Linked DNA regions of Homo sapiens: region 2 is linked to region 1. The links are contacts of gene promoters, found by promoter capture Hi-C in human tissues and cell types (Jung and others, 2019). All regions are on one chromosome and are shown on one strand. The core of a region is centred on a gene start or on the middle of the fragment in contact, and the rest is flanking DNA. Distances in the headings are between cores, read along the strand shown. Region 1 holds the start of SF3A3 (splicing factor 3a subunit 3). Region 2 has its middle 120 kb from the start of RRAGC.

Evidence for each region. The method cuts DNA at HindIII sites, captures the fragments that hold promoters and counts their contacts. A contact is called where the count stands out against the background at its distance.
Region 2: a fragment that was not itself captured here is called in contact with the fragment with the promoter of SF3A3 in region 1 in 1 of the 25 tissues and cell types used here (lymphoblastoid cells).

Annotation. Positions count from the first base shown.
Region 1 is chr1:37,987,405-37,993,528 of GRCh38, reverse strand. It overlaps SF3A3 (splicing factor 3a subunit 3), which reads left to right and starts at 3,507. Exons shown (of 17, transcript NM_006802.4): 1 at 3,507-3,659; 2 at 3,934-3,981; 3 at 5,693-5,745; 4 at 5,851-5,956. The coding sequence starts at 3,564. It also overlaps the pseudogene RNU6-510P. RefSeq lists enhancers at 2,349-2,894, 3,286-3,455, 4,156-4,255. The HindIII fragment of the contact is 23,460 bases long and covers 1-6,124 here.
Region 2 is chr1:38,734,734-38,740,743 of GRCh38, reverse strand. No RefSeq gene overlaps it. Among named protein-coding and RNA genes, the nearest start is that of RRAGC, 120 kb to the left of the region's middle. The HindIII fragment of the contact is 4,885 bases long and covers 2,070-6,010 here.

The sequences.
Region 1 (6,124 bases), core at 2,258-4,757:
CTATAATCCCAGCACTTTGGGAGGCCAAGGCAGGAGGATTGCTTGAGCTCAGGAGTTGCAGACAAGCCTGGGCACCACTGTGAGACCTCATCTCTAGTAAAAATTTTTAAAAAATTACAGCGGGTCTGGTGGCTCATGCCTATAATCCCAGCATTTTGGGAGGCCAAGGCAGGAAGATCGCTTGAGTCCAGGAGTTTGAGACCAGCCTGGGCAACACGGCAAAAAACCCCATCTCTACAAAAAATACAAAAATTAGCAGGGTGTAGTGGCGCACATCTATAGTCCCAGCTACTCAGGAGGCTGAAGTGGGAGGATAGCTTTAGCCCAGGAGGTCGAGGCTGCAGTGAGCCAAGATTGTGCCACTGTACTCCAGCTTGGCAAGACCCTGTCTCAAAAAAAAAAGAAAAACCTTGGCTTGGTGTGGTAGCTCATGCCTGTAATTCCAGCATTTTGGGAGGCCAAGGTGGGCGGATCACCCTGAGGGCAGGAGTTCAAGACCAGCCTGGCCAACATAGCAAAACCCCATCTCTGCTAAAAATACAAAAATTAGCTGGGCATGGTGCCACGCACCTGTAATCCCAGCTACTAGGGAGACTGAGGCAGAATTGCTTGAACCCAGGAGGTAGAGGTTGCAGTGAGCCAAGATCGTGCCACTGCACTCCAGCTTGGATGACACAGAAAGACCCTGTCTCAAAAAAAAACAAAAAACAAAAAACCTCGCAGTTTTTTGGTGTGCGGTGGCTCACACCTGTAATCCCAGCATTTTGGGAGGCCAAGGCAGGCAGATCACCCGGAGGTCAGGAGTTCAGGACCAGCCTGGCCAACATAGTGAAAGCCCGTCTCTACTAAAAATACAAAAACTAGCCAGGTGTGGTGGCAGTCACCTGTAATCCCAGCTACTCAGGAGGCTGAGGCAGGAGAATCGCTTGAACACAGGAGGTAGAGGTTGCCGTGAGCTGAGATCGCGCCACTGCACTCCAGCCTGGCGACAGAGCGAGACTCCCAAAACAAAACTTTAAATGTGGCTTTTGTTGCGTGGGAAAAAAATAAAAAATTAACCAGGGTGGTGGCACCCACCTGTGGGGGCCACAGGGGTGGAGGCTGCAGTGAGCCATGATTATGCCACTGCACTCCAGCCTGGGGCAACAGAGAGAGACCCTATCAAAAAAAAAAAGAAAAAGAAAAAAAAGAAAAAAGTGAACAATAGGTAAATTACTAATAATGTGATGCATTATGTCCTCCTCGTTCTTTTTTGTTAAACATAAATGTGCACATATGTATTTTCAGTTTTAAATTAATTTTTAAATTGAAAAAGTATGTTTAAGAATAACTTTTTATGCTGTGCTTGGGGTGTATACAAAGAAAAATCTCCCATATCAGATCTCCAAGGCTGTCTGCTCAGGAACAACCACTGTTTACTGTTACTTGGATATCCTTACAGAAATAATCTCTTTGCACATCTATTTTTATACACACTTGTGCATCTAGCTTTTTTCAGTTTGTGTGGCCATCTCTCCATATGAGTTCATACAGAGTTTTTAACAGTTTTATTGAAGTGTAATTTATATACCATAAAATTCACCCATTTTTAACAGTACAAAGCAATTAATTTTAATAAAATGAATAGAGTTATGCAACTATCACCACAATCCAATTTTAGAACATTTCTACCCATCCAAAATGGATTCCTTGTGCGCATTTGTAATCACTTCCAATCTCACCTGCGGTCACAAGCAACCACTCATATTTCTGCCTCCATAGATTTGCCTTTGTTAACTCAATTGTAGCCTAAAGCTGCCTCCTTACATATTTTAAATTTAGCCTAAAGGTTTCTCTGTACATTGTGAACTATAACCTAAATGGAGTTGTAAACAGACCATAGCCTACTCTTTGCCAATCACCGAGTTTTGGCCAATCAAACATGGCAAACTATGCAAACCGTGTTCAAATAAGGCAAAGACCAAGCTGTAATAACCGGTGTTTTTTTTTTTTTTTCTTTTTGCAGGGGCCATGCTAATCTTCTCTGTATGGTTCCAATTTTAGTATATGTGCTGCCATAGCAAGCACCAGTGTTTTTCTTTTAACACCGTTCTGGACGTTTTATCTGGACATACACTGTTGTTTTTCTGTCTAGCTTCTTTCACTTAGCATGATGCTTTCATGGTTCATCATTGTAGTATTCATTTATTGCAGAATAATGTTCCATTGTACTGTATAGATATACCACACTTTATCCATTTGCCAGTTAATGGACTCTTGGGCTGCATCCAGTTTTTGTCTATTATGAATAATGCCGCTGTGAACATATGAACACATGGACATGTTTGCATTTCTCTACCTACAAGTGGAGATATATAGACAGAATTTTTTTTAAGGCTGTATGTCATTTCACAGCTGGTCTTCCACTGCTTGGATGCACAGTATTTTATTTTATTTTATTTTACTTTTTTTTGAGACGGAGTCTCTCTCTGTCGCCCAAGCTGGAATGCAGTGGCATGATCTCAGCTCACTGCAACCTCTGCCTCCTGGGTTCAAGTGATTCTCCTGCCTCAGCCTCCCGAGTAGCTGTGACTACAGGCGCGCGCCACCATGCCCGGCTAATTTTTTGCAGTTTTAGTAGAGACGGGGTTTCACCGTGTTAGACAGGATGGTCTCAATCTCCTGATCTCGTTGGATGCACAGTATTTTATTTAACATATTCGCTGCCGATAGACAAGTCGTTTCTACACGTGAATTTCTTTTTTTTTTTTTTTTTTGAGACTGAGTCTCATTCTGTCGCCCAGGCTGGAGTGCAGTGGCACGATCTCAGCTGACGGCAACCTCTGCTTCCCGGGTTCAAGCGATTCTCCTGCCTCAGCCTCCGGAGTAGCTGGGACTACAGGCGCCTGCCATCACGCCCGGCTAATTTTTGTTTGTTTGTTTTTAGTAGAGACGGGGTTTCACCATGTTAGCCAGCCTGGTCGTCTCGAACCTCTGACCTCAAGTGATCCGCCCGCCTCGGCCTCCCAAAGTGTTGGGATTACAGGCGTGAGCTACCGCGCCCGGCCTCACATGTGAATTTTTTTAAAAACACCACCAGCAAAACCCCACTATTCCCATTTTCCTGAGAAAGACGCTGAGGTCCAGAGAAAGAGAAAACGTTCTCATAATTTATGCTGAAAGCTGCGTCCTCAAGTTCCGGTTTCCCAACTCCCATCCGCACTCCAACTGCTCGCGCAGTCCACACAGGATACCTGCCCGCCAAGCCGGCCCCAGCAAGCCGCAGGAAGCCGTCCGCTGAACCTCAGGTTCTTGGGTTTTCCTATGCCCCCTGGAGGCATCTGCGAACCTCTCGGCATCGCTCCACCACACCTCCCACCAGCAGGTGGCACTGTTGCCATCTCCATAACATGGACTGGCCTTCCTTGTGGTGCTCCTGTTTTCTTAAGTCCCGGGGCACTTCCGGCACTCGCGGAACTTTGGTGCAGCCTGATGCGCAACGTGGGGACTCAGGCGCGCTGGGCGGCAGGAGTTGCTTCCGGCCGTGTTGGTGGTCTGAATTGAGAAGCCGCGACTAAGGGAAGATGGAGACAATACTGGAGCAGCAGCGGCGCTATCATGAGGAGAAGGAACGGCTCATGGACGTCATGGCTAAAGAGATGCTCACCAAGAAGTCCACGGTGAGTGGGGCCTGAGCAGAGGCTGCGGCAGGAGCACGAGCCTCTATCCCGTGTTTGACCTCTGAGAGCTTGCTTTGGCCCTCAGAACCTCCCTGCCTTCCTCCGGGCTCCCTCTCCGAGCTCCGGTCTTGGTAACCTCCTCCCGGGGTCCGGAGCCCCAGAGGCCTTTCTGCCTCAGCTGGTAAAAGCTGAGCGGGTAAGCTCCGCCCTCGGGCGGCCTTTTCTACTCCAGAACGCAAACTAACGGCGTTTGTGTCACCGTTTGTTTTTTCAGCTCCGGGACCAGATCAATTCTGATCACCGCACTCGGGCCATGCAAGATGTGAGTGCCCAGCTGTCTGCCTCTCTTTGGGTTGGCGAGGGCGGGAAAAGAGAGGGGAAGTGAAGTGCGGTGTCTCAGCATGAGTCCCTGGCCAAAGGTAACCGGATTGGCCAGTCGCGGGCTCTCTGCCTGGACAGATGTCCACAGGCTGCCGAACGTGAGGGTGCTTCCTCAGTTCTCTGAATGGGGAACTCTTGGGCATTCTTCATTAATCAGAAAGGTGCCCTTTTTTTTTTTCTTCTTCTTCTTCTTTTGGACGGAGTCTCGCTCTGTTGCCTAGGCTGGAGTGCAGTGGCGCGGTCTCGGCTCACTGCAACCTCCGCCTCCTGGGTTCAAGCGATTCTCCTGCCTCAGCCTCCGGAGTAGTTGGGACTACAGGCGCTCGCCACCACGCTCAGCTAATTTTTGTATTTTTAGTAGAGACGGAGTTTCTACTAAACATGTTGGTCAGGCTGGTCTCGAACTCCTGACCTCGTGATCCACCTACCTCGGCCTCCCAAAGTGCTGAGATTACAGGCTTGAGCCACCGCGGCCGGCTTACACGTGCCCATTCTTACAGCATCCTGTATCCCTTGGATGTGCAAACAATAGTTATGAAGAGTCCATGACTCAGGTGCATAGCTACAATCCTTCCCTTAAATGAAAAAAAAAATATATATATATATATACACACACACACACACACACACAACACACCCCGTATGTTAGTGTTTTTCTCCCAGGATACTACTTTAAAGCGTTTTGGACTACTAAACTGCATTTGTCTGGTAATAGTTCAGTTTATTAAAAGAAAAACAAGATGCTATTTAAACTGGGTGATGAATAAATGGAGGTTCATTTTACTACGTTCCTTACTCTTGTGTATGTTTGAAACCTGTTTAAAAAGGAATAAAAGACCTACTTGGACCTTCTGATTTGCAGGAGATTATCAGATTACAAGCCCTCAGCCCCAAAATACTCTGAAAACCAAGGATTTTCTTTTTTTCCCCTTGGGTGATTATTTGGTGTCAAAATCTGACCTGATCTCACTTGACAGTAAAACCTGGCCCGAACCTGTGATAGGCTTTTTATGGTCTTTAATTTATCCCACTTGGTAAATAAGGTATGAGGTTTACTGCAGAACTGTGTGCTCCAGATTCCACTAGGGATGTTACATAATATATGATACCTCTTTTGAACTTAAACATTCCAAATTCTGAAACAAATCTGGTCCCAAAAGTTTTGGAGGAGGGACTATGTACCTGTACCATCCTGAATTAGTATACTTTGACTACAAAGGAAGCCTATGTAATGTTTATTTAGCCTGCCTACTCCTCAGTCAAGCGTTTTGAAATAGTGAATATCATCTTTATCTTTGAGGATGTTAGGTGGGAACTAGTGTTTGGCCAAAGAGGGTGAGTCTGTTACAGGGGAAGTTAGGCATCGGTGGTATGTAAAGATAGGAGCCACCCCTTAAATGTATCATTTAGGTAATCTTCCAATCGACCTGCTTAAAAAACTAAACAGGAATCAAGGCTGTTAAAGGGCTATTAAAAAACTAACCAGGAATCAGGGCTGTTAAAGGTACTAGGAAGCACAGAACTGTTAAGACTATCTCATATCCATGTCTCTTGAGGTTGCCCTGGGCTTTGACTGGAGAACCCTTGTTGTTTGCTTAGCTCTACAGTTGTGCAAATTGCATCATTCTGATGGTTTTGTATTTGCCTTTCAGAGGTATATGGAGGTCAGTGGGAACCTGAGGGATTTGTATGATGATAAGGATGGGTAAGTGACAGTCACAGCTAATCCAGGAGTTAGTGCTTCTGAGGAGCCATGGTTAGAGGACTGACTTTGTGCTCTATCTTCTTTGAAATTTTCCTGAAATTGCAGATTACGAAAGGAGGAGCTCAATGCCATTTCAGGACCCAATGAGTTTGCTGAATTCTATAATAGACTCAAGCAAATAAAGGAATTCCACCGGAAGCACCCAAATGAGGTATGTCCTCAGAAAAGTATTTTCTCCAGACCTATCCTTAAAGCATACTAAAGGAAAGGTATAAAGGAAACTGGACATGTGCTATTCAAATGCACTTCAAGAAAGAACTTGCCATTTAGCTGCAAGGACCATAGTTAGCTGACATCCTACAATACAGTGTTTTCAGTA
Region 2 (6,010 bases), core at 3,263-5,762, 750 kb before region 1:
TTCAGCCGAGATGCCTGAGCATGCAAAGCTTCTCCTCTCCTGTTGTGCGTCTCCAAACAGTAACTCTAGCAATATGACTTGACTTAAAAGCCCCGGGCAGTTTGCTCATAATTCTAATAACCATCCAGAATTAGATCACTTCACATTCACCTTATTTCTTCCCTCATTCATCTTCTGGTCAGGTCATTAGAAACTCCCCGATGCTTCCCCCAACCTCAGCATTCTATTATTTATATATTATACACATTTCTCTACAGAGTCCCTGGAAAATGGTGAAGTGGCCACAGAGGATGGGCTTTCTCCCCTGATGACAGCTTGGGAAATGTTCTTTTCTTTATCCACTGATCCATTTAATCCATTGGGGTTTTAAAACTTCCAACTCTAAATATTTGCCAAAAGGCATGTTCTTGGGGTCCCAGTGAATTTGGGATGGGTCGGTGGGATGGGCCAGTGGCTACAGCTTGGAGGGAGGGTGGGAAGAGGCAGAATGTTTGTTACTCAGCTCCTTTGGGGGCCCTAAGCAGGATTTTTGAATGCTGCCATGTTGATGTGGCCATTTTTGTGGCAAGAGATGTTTTAATGTGGCCATATCAGTGTGATATGGATTAGAAAACCATCATTTAAAGATGTCATTTATCTTCGTTTTTCCTGAAGACAAAATAAATATTTGCTTATTGAAAAAAATTCAAACCTTACAAAAATTATACATTTTGTAGAATGTCCTTTATTATCCTATTACTCCTAGAGATGACAATACTGTAGGTTATAGCCTAGATTTTTTTCTACACAGATATACATATGAGTAAGAATATATAATTATATACAGTTATTTTGTTATAAAATAATGCGAACCACAGACATCTAGGATCCACACTTTATTTCTGACCACTCAGTTTCACTAAACTCAAGGGATGACCACTCAGTTTCACTAAACTCACTAAACTCAAGGGAACTGGGCAGGATGTTCTCCCACTTATAAATGGGAGCTGAAGGATGAGAACACATGGACACATGTGGGGGAACAACACATGCTAGGGCCTGTCAGGGGGGAGGGGGACGGAGAGCATCAGGAAGAATAGCTAATGGATGTTGGGCTTAATACCTAGGTGATGGGTTGATCTGTGTGGCAAATCACAATGGCACATGTTTACCCATATAGCAAACCTGCACATATACTTCACAACTTAAAATAAAAGTTGATGAAAAAAAAAAAAGAATTGGGCAGGGATGCCCACCACCCACTGTGCTGATAATAAAAATGATGACATATTAATGGCTTGGGTTTTAGTCCATGTCAAAATATCCTTTTGTCCAGAGGCCAAGTCAGGAATGTCCCCCTCACCCCGTCTTGCCTCCTACGGGCTCCCTCTGTCTCCTGTGGGCACCAACCTTACTACATGCTTTTTTCTCCATATAGCCTCATGTGACTTTCCATCTCAAGGCCCATCTGTCTCAAATGTCACCTCTTCCAGAGCGGTCCCCTGGATCTCCCCACCCTAGACTCTTCCCATTCGGCTTCCAAAGCTCAGAAAAAGACAAAGCAGAAAGAGGCAAGGTGCCTCTGAGATTTAGCAAAATTGTGAAATTTCACCAGGTCCAACTTTTTTCTTTGAAATTTAGTCCTCCAGACGATGCAACATACACCTTTGTTTCCATGAACTTCAAAGTTGCCCTTTCAGACAGTCTCCTAATATGCAAGGTTAAGATAAATGATATTCGGTCTTGGCTGCAAGGACTAGATTTTTCACCTCTAAGTTTTAGTCCACGCATTGAGGTGTTAATTTAATACATTGAATGGCAGAACAGATGAGCTCACCGCTCAGAGTCTTTTCTCTGGGGGCGAAAAGTATTAACAGCAACAAAAATAAGACAAATGATGCGCAGATCAGTAAGTTTATGAAGTACAGTATCCAACGATTGTGATAGCTGATCCTCTTCCAATAACTCATTGCTTAAATGAGAGACATTTGTTGTCAAGAATTCACAGGATTAGACCATGAACAGTTCTTCTGAGAGGCAGAAAGGGCTCATGTCTACCTCTTTTCCCCGACATTGGTTTGGGCAGTCAGTTACTCTCACTGAGCCTCAACTTCCTCATGGGTAAGACGGGGAATAACTGCTGCTCTGCTACCATCCTAGGGTTCTTGTGAAAGTTGAATGAAGTAATAGAGGCCAAACAGGTGCACAGCAGATATTTGTCTCCCGGGATTGCCTAGTATCCAAATACTCTTTTTATGTGGGGAGTAGGTAGGAGTGAAAGCTCTGCCTCTCATACAGAAATGGAATGGGGTCAGGTACTCGTATGCATGGACATGTGGTGATGCTCAGCCAATCAGCTGCTCTTACCCTGTGCAGTGGCTCTTGGCTGAGTGACACGCAGAGTAGGGGGCGTATTAGAATTCCTCCCAGTGGCTGTGGAGCCAGCAGCTGGAGGTGGTATCCTACCCAGACCCCTCCTGACTTCCCGAGTTTCTACCTGCTTTGGAGCTGGGTTCTCCCCTCGGTGCTGTGAGCTGAAGGATCATCTTGCCTTTGCTGCTTATGCCAGCTACAATTAGCTTCAGCTGTTTGCAATGAGGCGCTCTGGTCCACAGATTCCTTTGTAGGCTGTGCACCTGTGAGGGGGTATTTCTGTGTGTGGGATGTGACACAGTGTTTCCTTCCCTGGAGAGCTTCAGATACAAATACCTGGGCCCTAATACCGTCCTGAGATTCTGAAGCTGCCAATCATGGGGAATTTTGGCCTGTGTGGTTCTTCAAGCTGGAAGGCACTCAGAAGTCATAGTCTTGGTTCTGCCTTGTAATCTGTGCAGGGCACAAAAGCAATGTCTTCTTTTAGGAAATGTACACAGAGGTGTGCATCATCCCTCTCAATTGCGCATCCCAGAGTTCCTCCGAGCTGGTTAACTTGATACATAGAAACCACTCTATGCACAGGGGATATTCCTTACAGCACTGTGTATAATGTAACAATATGGAGACAGGTCTGATTGCCCAAAATGAGGCTAATGGTTAAGTAAGCCACAGCTCAGCTACTTGAAGGAATATTATGCAACTGCTAAAAGTGTGTTTGGGCAGAGGTTTTTAGTAACATGAGAAAATATTTATAAGTTAAACATGCATAACCAAAAAGATATAAGAAAACCTACCAAGATAGGTTTTGGTACAGGTTTTTTTGCAGTGTAGTTTTTTTTTTTTTTTTTTTTTTGAGACGGAGTCTTGCGCTCTGTCACCCAGGCTGGAGTGCAGTGGTGCAATCTCGGCTCACTGCAAGCTCTGCCTCCCAGGTTCACGCCATTTTCCCACCTCAGCGTCCCGAGTAGCTGGGACTACAGGTGCCTGCCACCACGCCCGGCTATTTTTTTGTTTTTGTATTTTTAGTAGAGACGGGGTTTCACCGTGTTAGCCAGGATGGTCTCGATCTCCAGACCTCGTGATCCGCCCACCTCGGCCTCCCAAAGTGCTGGGATTACAGGCATGAGCCACTGCGCCCGGCCTGCAGTGTAGTTTTGTTTTTTACAAAATTCAGCATTCACCTTTTTTCCTTCTTCTTCGTAATGCGTGATTCAGTAAAACTGGTTTGTGTGTACAGAAAATTTCCATCGAGGTAATTATGGGGAAATGTTGACTGATAGGACAGCGACAATTTTAAGGCCAACCAAAATACTTGAAATCATCGTGGGCTAATTACGCCCCCATGGTTTTTTTGCCTCCCGTTGGGTAGCTGCCACTGGTGAATGTGCAGGTGAAATTGTTGTTTGCTGTGAGAGTTGAAAGGCCAGGCTTGCCCTGTGTGGGAGACCATCAGGCTATACAACACACTCCGGTTACTTTATGATTTCTGTATAGAACCTTTTCTTGAAATGAAACAAATGTTTGAATCAAACTCTGTTTTCAAGATAATAATAGAGGCCCCTAGGTAAAACGTAATATCTCTATTTATTAAAAATTATGTATTTCCAGTCAGCTCTTTTTTTAAAAAAATCATAAATAGGTAGAAAACATTTGCTTATTAGTTTGTTCATGCGCTTGTTCATTCATTCACCATGTTACTGAGAACAGAGCTAGGAACACCCTTAATTCACTTGCATCATTTCCTAAGGTCAGAAGCTTCTGGTATTTGTTCAGGCTCAGTCTCAGCTCTTTGAAGCTTTTGGACTCTGGTCTTTGCCAAGGGGTTCCAGTGTTTTTGGTCCATTGAAGGGGATTTATCCTCTCTTCTGCTAGTGCTTGCCTATGAGGGGCAGCTCAGTTAGGTTAGGTTATCTTCACAGAAGCCCTGGCAGAGGATCCCTGCCACACCTACAATGGGGAAGGTCTACCAGTCTCTCCTCTCACTTTGGGTCTACATATTAGGTTCTTTCTAAAGAATAGGAGACCCCTTCTATTTCCATTTCAGTCTGCTCCAGTCTAGCTCATTAAACAGGGATGTATGGCTGACATTTTACCCTGAGTCCAGGCCTGTGTTGGGGGTTGAGGGGACTGTAAAAGAAGTTTAGCACCTCTAAGCATTTTATGGAGGCAAGATAAACATACAAGCAGCAAACTTCTATGAAACCCTCAAAGGACACTGTGTGGCCCCCCATCCTGGCAGCTGTCCCCACTTTGGTTGGTGGTAGTGATTCAATCATTCATTAGTTTATTTTCTCAACAAACTTGCTGTGTGTTGGGTGGGCACTGCATAACAGCCGTGGTATCACAGGAATGAGGAAGACTGAGTCAGAAGCTCACAGTCTTGCATGGGCGATAAGACGTACATAAATAACTAGGTCATCAAATGACAAAATTGTATTCCCTGAATTTCTGCTGATCCTACTTCCTTACTAACTTTTAAAATCTTTTCCTCCCCATCCTCACTACCATTGCTTTTTTCTCTTGGATGATTACATAAGCTTTCGAGCTCATCTTCCTGCCTCCAGTCCAGCTCCCACATTCCCATCAGATGGATTAGTCTACAATCTAGACACGTCATTCCTAGCTCTGAGCCCTCCAGTCTCTATGCAAGATGAGGTGACCTCCACCTCTACTTCCTGGCCAGCTCTCTTGCCGCAAGCTGCCTCACCATTTCTGTGGTATTTGCACTATGTGCCTTTGGGCCCTCTGTCATTCCCTCTGCCAGGGATGCTCTCCCAGCTTGTTCTCCTAAAAGACTCTGTTTGTCCTTTGAGACTCAACTCATGTACCAAATCATCTGGCAAAACTTCCTTGGACTCCTCCACTCCATTCATTTTATTCACTCTTTGATGAGTATTCAGTATGTGTCAGGCATGGTGCCAGGAAGATGAAGGGAAGTGATATGGTTTGAATCTATGTCCCTGCCCAAAACTCATATTGAACTGTAATCCCCAGTATTGGAGTTGGGGCCTGGTGGGAGGTGATTGGATCATGGGGGTAGTTTTTCATGAATGGTTTGGCACCATTCCCCTTGGTACTGTCCTTGTGATAGTAAGTTCTTGTGAGATCTGGTCATTTAAAAATGTGTAGCACCTCCCTGCTCTCTTTCTTATTCCTTCTTTCACCATGTAATGTGCCTACGTGCCTCCTCTCCCTTCACCTTATGCAATGATCATAAGTTTCCTGAGGCCTCCCCAGAAGCCGAGAAGATGCCAGCATCATGCTTCCTGTACAGCCTGCAGAACTATGAGCCAATTAAACCTCTTTTCTTTATAAATTACCCAGTCCCAGATATTTCTTTATAGCAATGCAAAAATGGACTAGGACAGGAAGTAAAACCAATATGGTACCTGACCTTGTTTGTAGAGCTTCAAACTGAGTGATGGAGAGAGATGCTCATTAAACAAGTTTAAAATAAATGTAGGATTACAAACTGTCATAAGCAGGATGAAGAAGAATACAGGGTGCTCTCAGAGAGTATAGCTGTGGCTCCTCTCCCAGAGCATTGTGAAGCAGCTGCAGGTTATTCGTTTCTACTGGGTACTGGCCTCTTGCCCTATGGAGAAGGTCTGACCAAAGGTACAATGGGAATCATTTGGCTTGACCCCGGCTCTGT